Linked DNA regions of Homo sapiens: all the other regions are linked to region 1. Evidence: promoter capture Hi-C in human tissues and cell types (Jung and others, 2019). All regions are on one chromosome and are shown on one strand. The core of a region is centred on a gene start or on the middle of the fragment in contact, and the rest is flanking DNA. Distances in the headings are between cores, read along the strand shown.

The links. Contacts are between HindIII fragments. The study calls those that stand out against the background at their distance.
Region 2: the fragment with the promoter of CHST5 here is called in contact with a fragment that was not itself captured in region 1 in 1 of the 25 tissues and cell types used here (lymphoblastoid cells).
Region 3: the fragment with the promoter of ADAT1 here is called in contact with a fragment that was not itself captured in region 1 in 1 of the 25 tissues and cell types used here (heart right ventricle).
Region 4: the fragment with the promoter of TERF2IP here is called in contact with a fragment that was not itself captured in region 1 in 1 of the 25 tissues and cell types used here (dorsolateral prefrontal cortex).

What each region holds. Positions count from the first base shown.
Region 1 is chr16:77,171,612-77,174,812 of GRCh38, reverse strand. No RefSeq gene overlaps it. Among named protein-coding and RNA genes, the nearest start is that of MON1B, 18 kb to the left of the region's middle. The HindIII fragment of the contact is 5,474 bases long and covers 1-3,201 here.
Region 2 is chr16:75,534,529-75,537,729 of GRCh38, reverse strand. CHST5 (carbohydrate sulfotransferase 5) reads left to right here and starts at 1,622. Exons shown (of 4, transcript NM_024533.5): 1 at 1,622-1,686; 2 at 2,321-2,603. TMEM231 (transmembrane protein 231) reads left to right here. Exons shown (of 7, transcript NM_001077418.3): 7 at 1-989. The HindIII fragment of the contact is 10,484 bases long and covers 1-3,201 here.
Region 3 is chr16:75,621,566-75,624,766 of GRCh38, reverse strand. It overlaps ADAT1 (adenosine deaminase tRNA specific 1), which reads left to right and starts at 1,486. Exons shown (of 10, transcript NM_001324445.2): 1 at 1,486-2,364. RefSeq lists enhancers at 1,173-1,692, 1,572-1,811, 1,693-2,212, 2,213-2,732, 2,733-3,201. The HindIII fragment of the contact is 9,595 bases long and covers 1-3,201 here.
Region 4 is chr16:75,646,317-75,649,517 of GRCh38, reverse strand. It overlaps TERF2IP (TERF2 interacting protein), which reads right to left and starts at 1,745. Exons shown (of 3, transcript NM_018975.4): 1 at 966-1,745. The coding sequence starts at 1,635. It overlaps KARS1 (lysyl-tRNA synthetase 1), which reads left to right and starts at 1,853. Exons shown (of 14, transcript NM_005548.3): 1 at 1,853-1,940. The coding sequence starts at 1,879. RefSeq lists enhancers at 1-823, 621-890, 824-1,781, 1,821-2,000 and a silencer at 1,201-1,320. The HindIII fragment of the contact is 7,104 bases long and covers 1-3,201 here.

The sequences.
Region 1 (3,201 bases), core at 305-2,804:
GCCAAGTCGGTGGATCAGGAGGTCAAGAGTTCGAGACCAGCCTGGCCAACATGGTGAAACCCCGTCTCTACTAAAAATATGAAAATTACCTGGGCGTGGTGGTGGACTCCTGTAATCGCAGCTACTCGGGAGGCTGAGGAAGGAGAATTGCTTGAAACCAGCAGGCAGAGTTTGCAGTGAGCTGAGATCGCTGGCCACTGCACTCCAGCCTGGGCGTAAGAGCAAAACTCCGTCTCAAAGACAAACAAACAAAAATTCTTCTTTTGTTTAATTATCTGTGACCTATTTCTCCAAGCACAGTCCCTTCTGTGTAGCCTCTGATTCTCTGACCACTCTGATGGGTCATTGTCAGGTGAAGTGGGATCTCTTACTGGTAGTATTACTCCAGCTCTCTCCTCAGTTTTCTGAAATAATGGTATGATTCTGTACCCTACAAGTGGTATTCCCCAGTCAGATAGGGAGCAGGAGTGCCTTTGCTCAAGCCCTTCCTCCGGGATGGGGTACTCCTCTCCTTCCAAATAAATATTACAAGTACAGCTTCAATGCTGCCTCCTCTACTGACAGAACTCGTTCTCTCCAGCAGGCATCTCAGAATTTTTCTGAACATTTGACAGACGTAATCATCAGGCCCAAAGAGGAGACTGGGACTTCACTGTTCTCTAATTATTTTTGGGTAACTTATATTTCATTGATTTTATTTTCTTATTATTAGAATACATATTTATTGGGGTCCTGTGGGAGATGATTGAAGATTTAGAGCCCACAGTCCCTGCCCTTAACAAACTTCCAGTTTTCTGGAGGATGCAGACAGGTCAACGTTTGCAGCTCAAAAGGATAAGTCTACTTAAATTCAAGTTGTTCCAAATGGAAACTCATCTCCTTTTCCCAAACTTGTTTCTTCTCTTAATGTTACCAGAAGTTAGTCCCACAGTGACTTATGTCCCTCACCTTGGGGTCACCCTTGTCTCTGCCTTCTCCCACATACCTAGGTCCAATTATTAATGATCAACTCAGTACTCTCAGAACTTGGATGAGTTCTTAGAGTAAACCACACTGTCTCTTCTGCCTGAGTATTCTCCATTAGTTTGGCAAAACTGGAAGAAAAGCATCTATGAAAACTAAGGTGAAACACATGGAAAGGTTGCTTGGAACCCACATGAGCTATAGATTTTATTAGTATTATTATTATTTTAAATTGCAGAAAACCCAACTTGAACTGCCTTAAACAATGAAAACACTTCATTGGTGAGTTGAAAAGAAGGTGAGGGCAATCTTCAGGTGAGGGTTGATCCAGGGCTCCAATGATGTGGCCAAGATTCAGTTTCTTTCTTCATTCCTTCCTCTTCTTCCTTGATGTATACTCCATTTTCTAGCAGTTTCTCCCTCCAGGTCTCAAGAGGGCTCTAGCTGCTTCTGTGGCTACATATGTCTTGCTTTAAGTCCAGAAGGGATGGGAGAGAATCTATTTCTCAGAAGTCTCAGTGGAAATCTCATTGACTCTGGTTAGATATGTGTCCATGCCAGAACCAATCACTATGGCCAGGAAATGATTCATTTAGAATGGGCCAAGGCAATGAAGGTTCACCCTGGGCTTGAAAGTGAGGCCAAGATCACTCAAGTCATCATAAGGAGTAATTGTCCAAAGGAAGTTCAGGTTGTTGCAGCTGCTGGGAATCTGAATGCCCAGGAAGCAGGAAATAAATTTCTCTCATAGGCCCTGATCAAAGAATGCCAGGAACAGCATGATACAGTTTTAGACTGAAGGATGGTGGCAGGAAGCCAGTGGAATCTTTGGGTAGAAGTATGGCAAACTTGAAAATTGCTAAGAGAGTAGATTTTAAGTGTTTGTATTGCAAAAAAAAAAAAAAAAAGAAATGTTAAGTATGTGAAGGTAATGCATATTTAATTAGCTTGATTTAGCCATTTCACAATATCTATACATATATCAAAACAGCATGTTGGACACCATCAATATATATAATTTTTATTTGTCAATTAAAAAGAAGAATGAAAAAGATTATTCTCTCCTGATTTTTGGATGGAATAACGATGAAAGGAAAGAGATTTTAGAAGCAGGTGGGATGCTAATGAGAATATGTCAGTCCTTCGAATAAAAGCTTGGGAGGACTTAAGCCATTTCTGTGGCACGGAGAATAGAAAATTGCGATTTAAATAAACCCCATCAAATAGATTACTGTCCATTATCAGTGCGATAAAACCTTTTGAGAATTTGTCAAGGAGTATCTACATATTTGAAATAAACAACTTGCTCATTGATAATCTGCATTTTACTTATGGACTTTAGGATAAATGAAGCCATGATTCATACAGTCTCTACAAGGAAATTGAAAAGGAAAACCTTCCCCAAGAGGAAGATGATGTCAGAAACATGATACTCAACTACCTTATCGCTGAGTTGTCCTAGGGAATAGCAACTTCGTTGTCTAGATGTTATAATTTCTCCTCGATTTACTTTAATTAATGAGGCAAGTATAGACATGCTTGTCCAAATAAAGATTTAAAATTGGAGGGACTCAGAACACCAGAGTATTAGAGCTAACAGGGACCCGCCAGTGTGATTTATCTTATAGATGAGAAAACAGGTTGGGGAAGGAAAAGAGACTTAGCTGGCAGCCACCCAGAGAATCAGTGGCTCAGCTAGTGCTATTCTAACAACTTATCCTAGCTTTGTGCCTCCCTGAGGACTAGGACCTTTGCTTTTATTCCAATTTCAGAGGCAATTTTAGGGGAACTCCCTGAAAAGTGTAAACTGAAAAAGATGCCTGGGAGCCTGGGAGTTTCCTATGTAGTGCTCTAGGTGGGAAACCTTTGCTCACATAAAGATGACTGTCTTTATCAAAGGTGGCCACTAGATGGCAGAAAAAACCCATGTACCTGATATGGAAGCATATGTTCCAAAGATTTTGAGACTTGAGTATTTCTGAGACCAGCTCATCTGCCTGGTGAATATAGAAAATTAGGGATCATTGTGATATCAGTCCACCCCCATGTAAATCCCCCAAATCTGTACCTCTCTCCAGAGTCCTGTGGTTAATCTCATCCTTCTCGTCATTAAAACCCATAAAGGAAACAATTTACTTTGAAAACTATTTTATAAAAAGCTTGAATGACTATTAAGTAGCATTTTATGGTTTCTACTAGGATTTTCTGCATAACAATAGAAATTATTTGACAACTCAA
Region 2 (3,201 bases), core at 373-2,872, 1.6 Mb after region 1:
GTGAATCACAAGGTCAGGAGATCGAGACCATCCTGGCCAACATGGTGAAACCCCATCTCCACTAAAAATACAAAAATTGGCTGGGTGTGGCGACACGTGCCTGTCATCCCAACTATTTAGTAGGCTGAGGCAGGAGAATCGCTTGAACCCTGGAGGCGGAGGTTGCAGTGAGCCGAGATTGCGCCACTGCACTCCAGCCTGGCAACAGAGCTAGACTCCGTCTCAAAAAAAAAAAAAAAAAGAAATATAGAGGATTTTATTAACTCAGCTCCGACCCATAGCTAAGTTAAGGTTTGATGTTATTACTGAATATTTGGAGGCAGAAAGACTCCTGATTTTGCCAAATGATTAGTACAGTTTCGGCTTAAGTCAGATGAGGCCCCCCTAATATTCCATCATGTAAGGCTAATAAAGCAATTATTTCTTTTTTTTTTTTCCTTCCAACTTTTATTGTAGACTCATGGGGTATATGTATGGGTTTCGTATATAGCTAAATTGTACAACCTGGGGGTTTGGTGTACAGATTATTTCATCACCCACGTAATAAGCATAGTACCCAGTAGGTGGTTTTTCTTTTCTTTTTCTTTTTCTTTTTTTTTTTTTTTTTTGAGACAGAGTCTCACTCTGTTACCCAGGCTGGAGTGCAGCAGCATGATCTCAGCTCATTGCAGCCTCTACCTCCCAGGTTCAAGTGATTCTCCTGCCTTACCCTCCCGAGTAGCTGGGATTACGGGTGCCCACCACCATGCCCGGCTAATTTTTGTGTTTTTAGTAGAGACAGGGCTTCACCCTGGTGGTCAGGCTGGTCTCGAACTCCTGACCTCAAGTGATCCATCCGCTTTGGCCACCCAAAGTGCTGGGATCACAGCAGTTTGATCACAGAAGTTATTATGGTTGGCATTCTGGCACACATCTTTCTAATCTTTTTTGTTGTATGTAACCTTTTTAGTATCACAAACAACACTTTTATAAACCTTGTGTAGAAATCATTGTTGCTGGTTTATTTCCTTAAGATACATTCAGAAAACTTATGACCATTGTTAAGGATCTTAATTCATTGCCAAACCACAGCCAGGAAAGACTGCTAATTTCTACTCCCAGCAGCAGGGACTCCTCGTTTCAGATACCACCATGGATTAAAGGACCTCCCAATGCTCTATCCTTTTCAGATTACTGGACTCTGCCCGTTTGTTTCTTTGTTTTTGAGATGGAGTCTCGCTTTGTCACCCAGTCTGGAGTGCAATGGCCCCATCTCCGCTCACTGCAGCCTCCACCTCCGGGGTTCAAGCTATTCTCCTGTCTCAGCCTACCTAGTAGCTGGGATTACAGGCATGTGCTACCATGCGCGGCTAAATTTTGTATTTTCAGTAGAGATGGGGTTTTGCCACGTTGACCAGGCTGGTCTTGAACTCCTGACCTCAAGTGATCTGCCTGCCTTGCCTCCCAAAGTGCCGGGATTACAGTCATATGCCACCAGGCCAGGCTGAGCTGTTATTTGTAAGGGGTGGGTGGGGAGCTTTTATTTACTGAAACATATCCTGTATTCATTGGAACATGTTATCAAGCCTGCGCCTCTGGGCGGAGGCTAGGGCAGGGAGGGCACAGCTCCTAAGGCCACCTGGTCTTTCAACTCCTCCCAGCTGGGACACTGCACCGGGAGGCAGCACGGATTCCTGTGTCATCAAGGTGCCTGGGTCTTGGCTTAGGGCTGAGGTTGGGGCCTTGGGAAGGGTTTGGATTCCAAGTCCCTTGGCTGCAAGGATGCCCCCAAGAGCGAGGAGGGCCAAGATTAAGATTCGACTTCCTTCACTAGGGCCTTTGTCCTCCCAGGAGCTCCCAGGTTCTCTGGCGATTGGGGGGGTGAGGAAGGGTTACAACGTTCATTTGTGGTCAGTTAGATGAGAAGTGACTCTGCCAGCGTCCTTTGACATCCCCGGCTAAAAGGTGCGCCTCTTAGAGCCCCAGCCCACCTGGGCCCTCCTGCTCTGCCCTCGGCCAGCGCCCCTCCCCGAGACATGGCCCCTCGGTCGGGGGTGGGGAGAGGGAGCTGGGGGCAAAACCTGCTCCTTCCTTCCTTCTCCCATTTCCCTGGCTCCCGCCGGCCACCCTGGGACCGCAGCCACGTCTGAAAGCTCCTCACCAGGCAGCGCTGAAGATTGCGGGGCAGCGCCGAGGGTTGTTGGCCGGCGCGCGGGGAGTAGAGGGCGCGGGCCGCAGTGCCGGGCTCCGGAGGGAGCTCTGCGCCGGGTCCTTCCCTGTGGTAGCCCCAGGACACCCCCATCCTCAACATCCCATTCTGGGACTCCTGCCCTGTTCCCAGATTCGCTCTGCCTCGAGTCTCCAGGAGCTTCCAGTGGCTTGGTTACCCCCGACTCTTCGTCCATGCCTCTTAGAGCCCCTTTCCCAGCCTCACTGGGTGTCCCTTAATAGTCTTGGGACCTTAAGGAGCAAGTCAGCCCCTGCGGAACCTCCCAGTGAAGAGAAAGAGCTGGCTGTGCGGTGGAACTTGGAAGAGACGACGTCTGGGAGCTTTTGCTGAGCCCAGGGGGAGAGGCGTCCCTCTGGCTGCTGCTCCAGCTCTGGCAGACACGCCAAGCTTTGAGGTACTTTGGTTCTTCATTCTCCACCGGAGGTGTCCCCACACTCGGTTGGGCTGGGGGCCGGGCCAGTGGCCCAGCTGTGACGCTCCTCTGTCCTGCACCAGAGACCTGGGTTGGCGGGAAGAGCTGGGGGTGGCTTTTCCATCAGCAACGTGGAAAGTTCATCTCCCCTGCTAGCGCTGGTTTGGAAGTGTCTTGCTGGGGCTTCGGCTGCACGCGGGAATCCTCACTGCGCAGGGCAGGGGTCGGGGTGCGGGTTCTTATTCCATACTTGGGTCTCAAAGGGTGTGGCTTTCAAAAGCTCTCCATGAAATTCTTGAGAAAAAATAGCTTGGTGAGTTAATTTGCAACCAGACTCAGGGGAAGTGGAGTCGTGCCTCACTGCCTCTAGGGCCTTGATGTTAGGCTTTAGGAAAGGCCCTCTGGGCCCCAGGACAGTACAGGTGCCTAGGAAATGTTTTTTTGTTTGTTTGTTTGTTTGTTTGTTTCGAGACGGAGTCTCGCTCTGTCACCCAGGCTGAAGTGCAGTGGCCTGATCTTGGCTCACTGCAACCTGTCTCCTGGGCTCAGGTGATTTCCTGCCTCAGCCTCTGGAGTAGGT
Region 3 (3,201 bases), core at 237-2,736, 1.5 Mb after region 1:
ATAAATTTTTGAGGGGTAACAAAGAAAAATGAATTCTTTCATTTTTAGTAATAGAGCATTCAGTTACTGGGTGACAAAGGCCCCTGAAGTATCCAGGCAGCTATATTACTTATTCCCGGCAATCCAAAGGTTTTTAGACCTGTTCTGCCCACTACACTGTAGTAGTACTGTACTACAGTAGCCAGTAGCCACATGTGACTATCCAGCATCTGAAATGTGGCTGATCCAAATTGGGATGTATTCTAAGTGTAACACACACCAGATTTCTTAAACTTCGCATTAAAAACAGAACAGAACATAAGTATTTTTTAAAATATTGAGACTCGGCAGCCAGGTGCGGTGGCTCACGCCTGTAATCCAGCACTTTGGGAGGCCGAGGCGGGCAGATCACGAGGTCAGGAGATCGAGACCATCCTGGCTAACATGGTGAAACCCCGTATCTACTAAAAATACAAAAATTAGCCTGACGTGGTGGCAGGCACCTGTAGTCCCAGCTACTCGCGAGGCTGAGGCAGGAGAATGGCGTGAACCTGGGAGGCGGAGCTTGCAGTGAGCAGAGATTGCGCCACTGCACTCCAGCCTGGGTGACAGAGCGAGACTCCGTCTCAAAAAAAAAAAAAAAAAAAAAAAAAATATATATATATATATATATGAGACAGACAGACCGACCCCGGGCATCGTGACTCACGCCTGTAATCCCAGCACTCTGGGAGGTTGAGGCGGGCGGATCACTTGAGGTCAGGAGTTCGAGACCAGCCTGGTAACATGGCGAAACCCCGTCTCTACTAAAAATAACAAAAATGAGCCGGGTGTGATGGCGGGCGCCTGTAATCCCAGCTACTTGGGAGGCTGAGGCAGGAGAATCGCTTGAAGCCAGGAGACGGAGGTTGCAGTGCGCCGAAATTGCGCCGCTTCCAGCCTGGGCGACAAAGCGAGACTCCATCTCAAAAAATTTTTTGATTATATGTTGAAATAATACTATTTGGGATGTATGGGTTAAATAAAATATATATGATTGTTTCTATTTTGACTTTTAATGAGGCTACTGGAAATTTTTAAATTACGTATATGGTTCGAATTATATATCTATTGGACAGTGATGTTACAGATAGAAATACAGCATAGTCAGGAGAATCGCTTGAACCGGGAGGCGAAGGTTGCAGTGAGCCGAGATCGCGCCTCTACACTCCAGCCTGAGCAACAGAGCAAGACTCCGTCTCAAAAAAAAAAAAGAAAAAGAAAAAAATTCAGCCGAGTGCTGCAAGATACGTCATTCTAGTTGAAGGAATATCTAAGCCAACAAGCGGCTCCCATCATCCGGTTTCACGCCTCTCTAAGACGCAGCCAGGGCTGCGGGACTTGAAGCGCGGGAATCTCGGCCCTGGCACCGACTCCCCGGAAAAACTACAGGGCCCGGCATGCACTGCGCGCCTCTGGGAGCGGGAGCCGAAAGGAACCGGCGCTTTGTGACGTCACGTCCGCCTTACCGGCGGATTAAGCTCGCTTTCTTCTAGGCGCGTTTCCTGAAGGTGGGAGGGGAGCGTCCGCGAGGCGCTGGGGCGACGGGGCAGGTTTATCCGGGCTAACTTTGCCGAGTCTGTTTTTGAGGGAAGAGGTTGTGAGGATCGTATCTTCCGGGACGCGTTTCACGTGGGAAGGCGCTCCACGCCTGGAACTGTCAGCAGCCGGCGCCTGAAGAGCTCCTGGCGCGGGGCCTCTGGCCTGGCAGCCGCAGGACCCAATGGATCAGGCGCTCACGCTGTTCTCACTGCATGGCTTCAGTGCCTTGCCTGGCACCTCCTATCCTGTAACTGGCCGACTCGGGGTCCCACCCAGGCTTCTCCAGCGGCCGGGAAGGGGCTCTGCTTCCGGAAGTGTTTAGGAAGGGAGCCAGCGTAAACCAGAGTCCCTTCCTCCAAGCATCGCTGAAGCCTTTTCTCCCCTGGCAGCCGACTTCCTTTTCTTTGGAAAGGACGTCAGTTTTTTTAGCTTGTTGAAACTGTTCAGAGATGCGGTCTTGTGGGCAAATAAATGCCTGTTTAGCTGAGCTGTTATTTTCAGCTAAGAAGTTCTTCAAGTTTTCAAGATCTAGGAGGGGGTGTAGGCTCGAATTATAATGGACCCAGTGTAGCAAAACATTTATTCATTTAAACAATTGTGCATGCTCATTCAGACGCACTACCTGAGTGAGATGATGCCGTTCTGGGCTGCTTCATCTTAAAGAGAGTCACTGTTTCTTCTGGCAACTTCTACCTGCCTTGCCTATCGAGGTTTGTGAATTGCACCTCTGGTTTAATTTCAGGTCGATGGCCAGGTGGTCTTCATAAACTATACTGCCTTGTGATGCCTCCCTAGAAATGAGAGGTGAGTCCCTTCCAAACGAGGATTCTAGGATCTCATGCTTTCTTTTCTTGACAAGGCTTGCCCTGGCCCTCTGACTTTCAAGTCACAGGGTCTCACTTCCTGCAGATTTTTGTTTTAAATCACTGTGGTCTGATTTACCAGTAGCATTCACTACAGTAGCGAGCCTGCACGTTGCGCTGCAGGGGATTCATAACAATACCATCTTTCAAAAGCTGCATGCACTGGAGCTCAGGAAAGCCTTTTTTGTTTTTTTGAGAGGGAGTCTCGCTCTGTCACCCAGCCTGGAGTGCAGTGGCACAATCTCGGCTCATTGCGACCTCCGCCTCCCGGGTTCAAGCGATTCTCCTGCCTCAGCCTCCCGAGTAGCTGGGACTACAGGCACGCGCCATCACGCCCGGCTAATTTTTTTGTATTTTCAGTAGAGACAGGGTTTCACCACGTTGGCCAGGCTGGCCTCGAACTCCTGACCTCAGGTGAGCCACCGCGCCCGGCCTTCAGTTTGGTTTTACAGTGCTTAGCTATGTCTATCACAAGCTCATCTTCTACTGGGAAGCTTTTTGTATAATTGAGTCCAAATGAGATCAGGATGTGCCTAGTGAGCATTGATAGGGCCAAGAGTGAGAGATTTCCCTGCAAAGTATCCTAGGGATCTGCTTGATGGTTTTTTAATTCATGGCTTTCTATGCCCATTACAGCCCTCCCCCTTTCACCCCCACCACCAGGTAGCTCAAGGCAAATTAACCAGGAAAATCATCAAATGTTATTTTTTGTAATAGTAATCACAGTTGACCTTAATTATGCTCAACATAGTAGCAATTGCTTTTTATAAGTATTACT
Region 4 (3,201 bases), core at 496-2,995, 1.5 Mb after region 1:
CGCTGGAGAGCAGTGGCGCAGTCTCGGCTCACTGCAACCTCCGCCCCCCGGGTTCAAGCAATTCTCCTGCCTCAGCCTCCTGAGTAGCTGGGACTACAGGAACTCTCCGCCACGGCCGGCTAATTTTTGTATTTTTAGTAGGGGCGGCATTTCGCCATGTTGGTCAGGCTCGTCTCGATCTCCTTACCTCAGGTGATCCGCCCGCCTCGGCCTCCCAAAGTGCTGGGATTACAAGCTTGAGCCGCCGCGCCCGGCCAAGAGAGAATTTTCTATATACTTTTTGTAACTTTTGAATATAGAACCATGTCAATATTCTAGTCAATGGTAAAGTAAATTAAAACTAGACCAAGAAGCTGGGTGTGATGGCTCACGCCTGTAATCCCAACACTTTGGGACACCGAGACGGGAGGATCGCTTGAGCCCAAGAGTTCGAGACCTGTCAGGGCAACACAACGAGACCCCCATCTCTACAACAATTTTTTTTTTAATTTAGCGGGACGTGGTGGCGCGGGAGTGTAGTTCCAGCTACTTGGGAGGCTGAAGCCGGAGATTCGCTTGAGCCCAGGAGGTCCAGGATGCAGTAGGTCGTGATCGCGCGGCTGCATCACAGCCTGGGCGACGGAGCGAGCCCCCACTCAAAAATTAAAAAATAAAAACGACGAGAGGCCAGACGTGGTGGCTCACTCCTGTAATCCCAACACTTTGGGTGGCCGAGGCAGGAGGATCGCTTGAGCTCAGGAGTTCAGACCAGCTTAGGTAACAGAGACCCATCGCAAAAAAAGAACAATAATAAACAACAAGGGAGCGAGAAGGCAAGAAAATGGTGCAAATTTACCCGGATGTCAACAGGGGGCGGGGCCAAGCGCTGCTACCGAAGATGCCAAGATGGACGCCAGGCAGCCAGGAGAAAGATCCCAACCCCACCCGCGCAGATATCCGCGAGGCCCCGCGCTCAGCCTCCTCACCCCCGCTATCCGCGGCCTCCGGGTCCTCCTCCGCCTTCCGCTTGAGCTTCTGGGAGGAGGGGCTCACCGGCGCGTCCCCCAGCAGGTACTTATGCTCCTGGCCCCGCAGGTGCTTGAGGTAGCGGTCCTTCAGGGACTGCCACGAGTGCTGCGTGAGCGAGCTCTTCTCCATCGCTTTCCACAAGGCGTTACCGGTGACGGAGCTGGGCGAGCGGGCATTTTCCTTCACGTAGGTAAGGATGGCTACGTCGTCCGCATCCGTGAAGGCGATCCGCCCGGCGTGCCGCTGCGGCTCCGGCTCCGCGGCGCCCTCGGCCAGGGCCCCGGGCTTTGCTTCCGAGCCGGTGTCCGCCGCCGAGGCGGGGCCCAGCCGATAGGCCTCCAGCTCCAGCCTCTCGTTGCGCTCCACGCAGTCCAGGATGTACTGCGTGGAGATGAAATCACCCGAGGCCTCGGCCAGCGCCTCCCCGGGCTGGGCCAGCAGCACGGCCCCGGGCTCCTGCACTCGGCACACGGTGCCGCCGCCGTGCAGGATGAGCGTCGACAGCCGACGCTTGGCCGGGCTGGGCCGCACGTAGAAGGACATGGAGCTGCCGTCGTCCCTCACGAACAGAGTCGAGGAATGGGTGGGCCCGTTGGGGTCTTTGCCCAAATCCATCGCCTCCGCCATGTCTGACGCCGAGCACTACTAGAAGAGCTACCCCCTCGCGAGCGCCTGGCACACAGAGCTCAACTGACTGAGCTGTCACCGCAGACGCCTCTGCCGCGAAGCGCAGCACTGGGCCTGCGCAGCAGCAGCCGCGGCGCATCGAGAGTGCCCGCCCCCTCTCCCCCGGAAGAGGTGGGGCTTCGCACCTTGACCTGGAAATTAACGTACTATCCTCCTTACTTTTGGGTCGGGCCCTCCGGGAAGATGGCGGCCGTGCAGGCGGCCGAGGTGAAAGTGGATGGCAGCGAGCCGAAACTGAGCAAGAAGTGAGTGTCGCTGCGAGTCTTTAAAGCCTTTGCGGTAGGAGAGTCTGGGCTGGGAAGCGCCGCGAGGTTCCCACCAAGGCTGCTGTGCCGGGGCCTTCTTGCCGGCTCTCGTGGGTACGCACATGCTGAGACGTGGTGGCTGCGCCCTGCAGACCACGTACCCCGGGATACCCCGGGCACGCCGGCTCCCCGTTCCCAGCTGGCACCGGCGGGATGCTCCCTATCATACTCCTAGAGTTAAGAGACTGTGGAGGAGGAACTAGGACGAGAACTAAGAGTTATCAGAAAAGAAAAGCGAAACTTCCTGCTTAGCTTCATCCTCCTTTCTGAGAAATGCATTCTTTTGTTGAGCCACTCAGTAAACGTGGAAGTTGGAGAAATGTTAAATACCCTAGCTTTTCAGAAAGACCTTCAAAATTTTCTGGGCCTCACTAAGGTCATTCTGAACGTTATGTATTAAAAGGGATCAGTTCTAAAACTGTCATGCATCTACCCGTATGGGTTATTCAGTAGATACCTGTGAGTATTAAGTGATCAACGTCTAACAGTAGAGACCATCTTAATTCAGCCTGATATCTTTGTTAACCACTCCCAAATCCCTGGAGTATGTAGGTTAACATAGATAAGTCAGGATTAGCCACCCTTTAACTGGCTGTCTTATATTCTCATTAGCGTTCCCCATTTGAACCACAGAACACAGGTAATTGAGTGTTTTATCATTGCTAGGAAGATGGTACATAGTACCATTCCAGAGGCATACGAGAGGGCTTAATCCCCGTGGCGCGCACTTGTTATCCCAGCTACTCGGGAGACTGAGGCAGGAGAATCGCTTTAACCCAGGAGGCGGAGGTTGCAGTGTGCTGAAGTCGTGCCACTGCACTCCAGCCTGGGAGACTTGAGGTAGTGGTCCTTCAGGGACTGCCAGAAGTGCTGCGTGAGCGAGCCCTTCTCCATCGCTTTCCCCAAGGAGTTACTGAGACGGAGCCAGACCCTGAATGAAAAAGAAAAGAGAAATGATGTTTCTTTTTTTTTTTTTTTAAGATGGAGTCTCGCTCTGTCGCCAGGCTGGAGTGCAGTGGCGCGATCTCAGCTCACTGCAACCTTCGCTGCCAGGGTTCAAGCGATTCTCCTGCCTCAGCCTCCCGAGTAGCTGGGATTACAGGCGTGTGCCACCATGGCTGGCCAATTTTTGTATTTTTAGTAGAGACAGGGTTTCACCATGTTGGGCAGGATGGTCTCAATCTCGTTACCTTGTGATCCG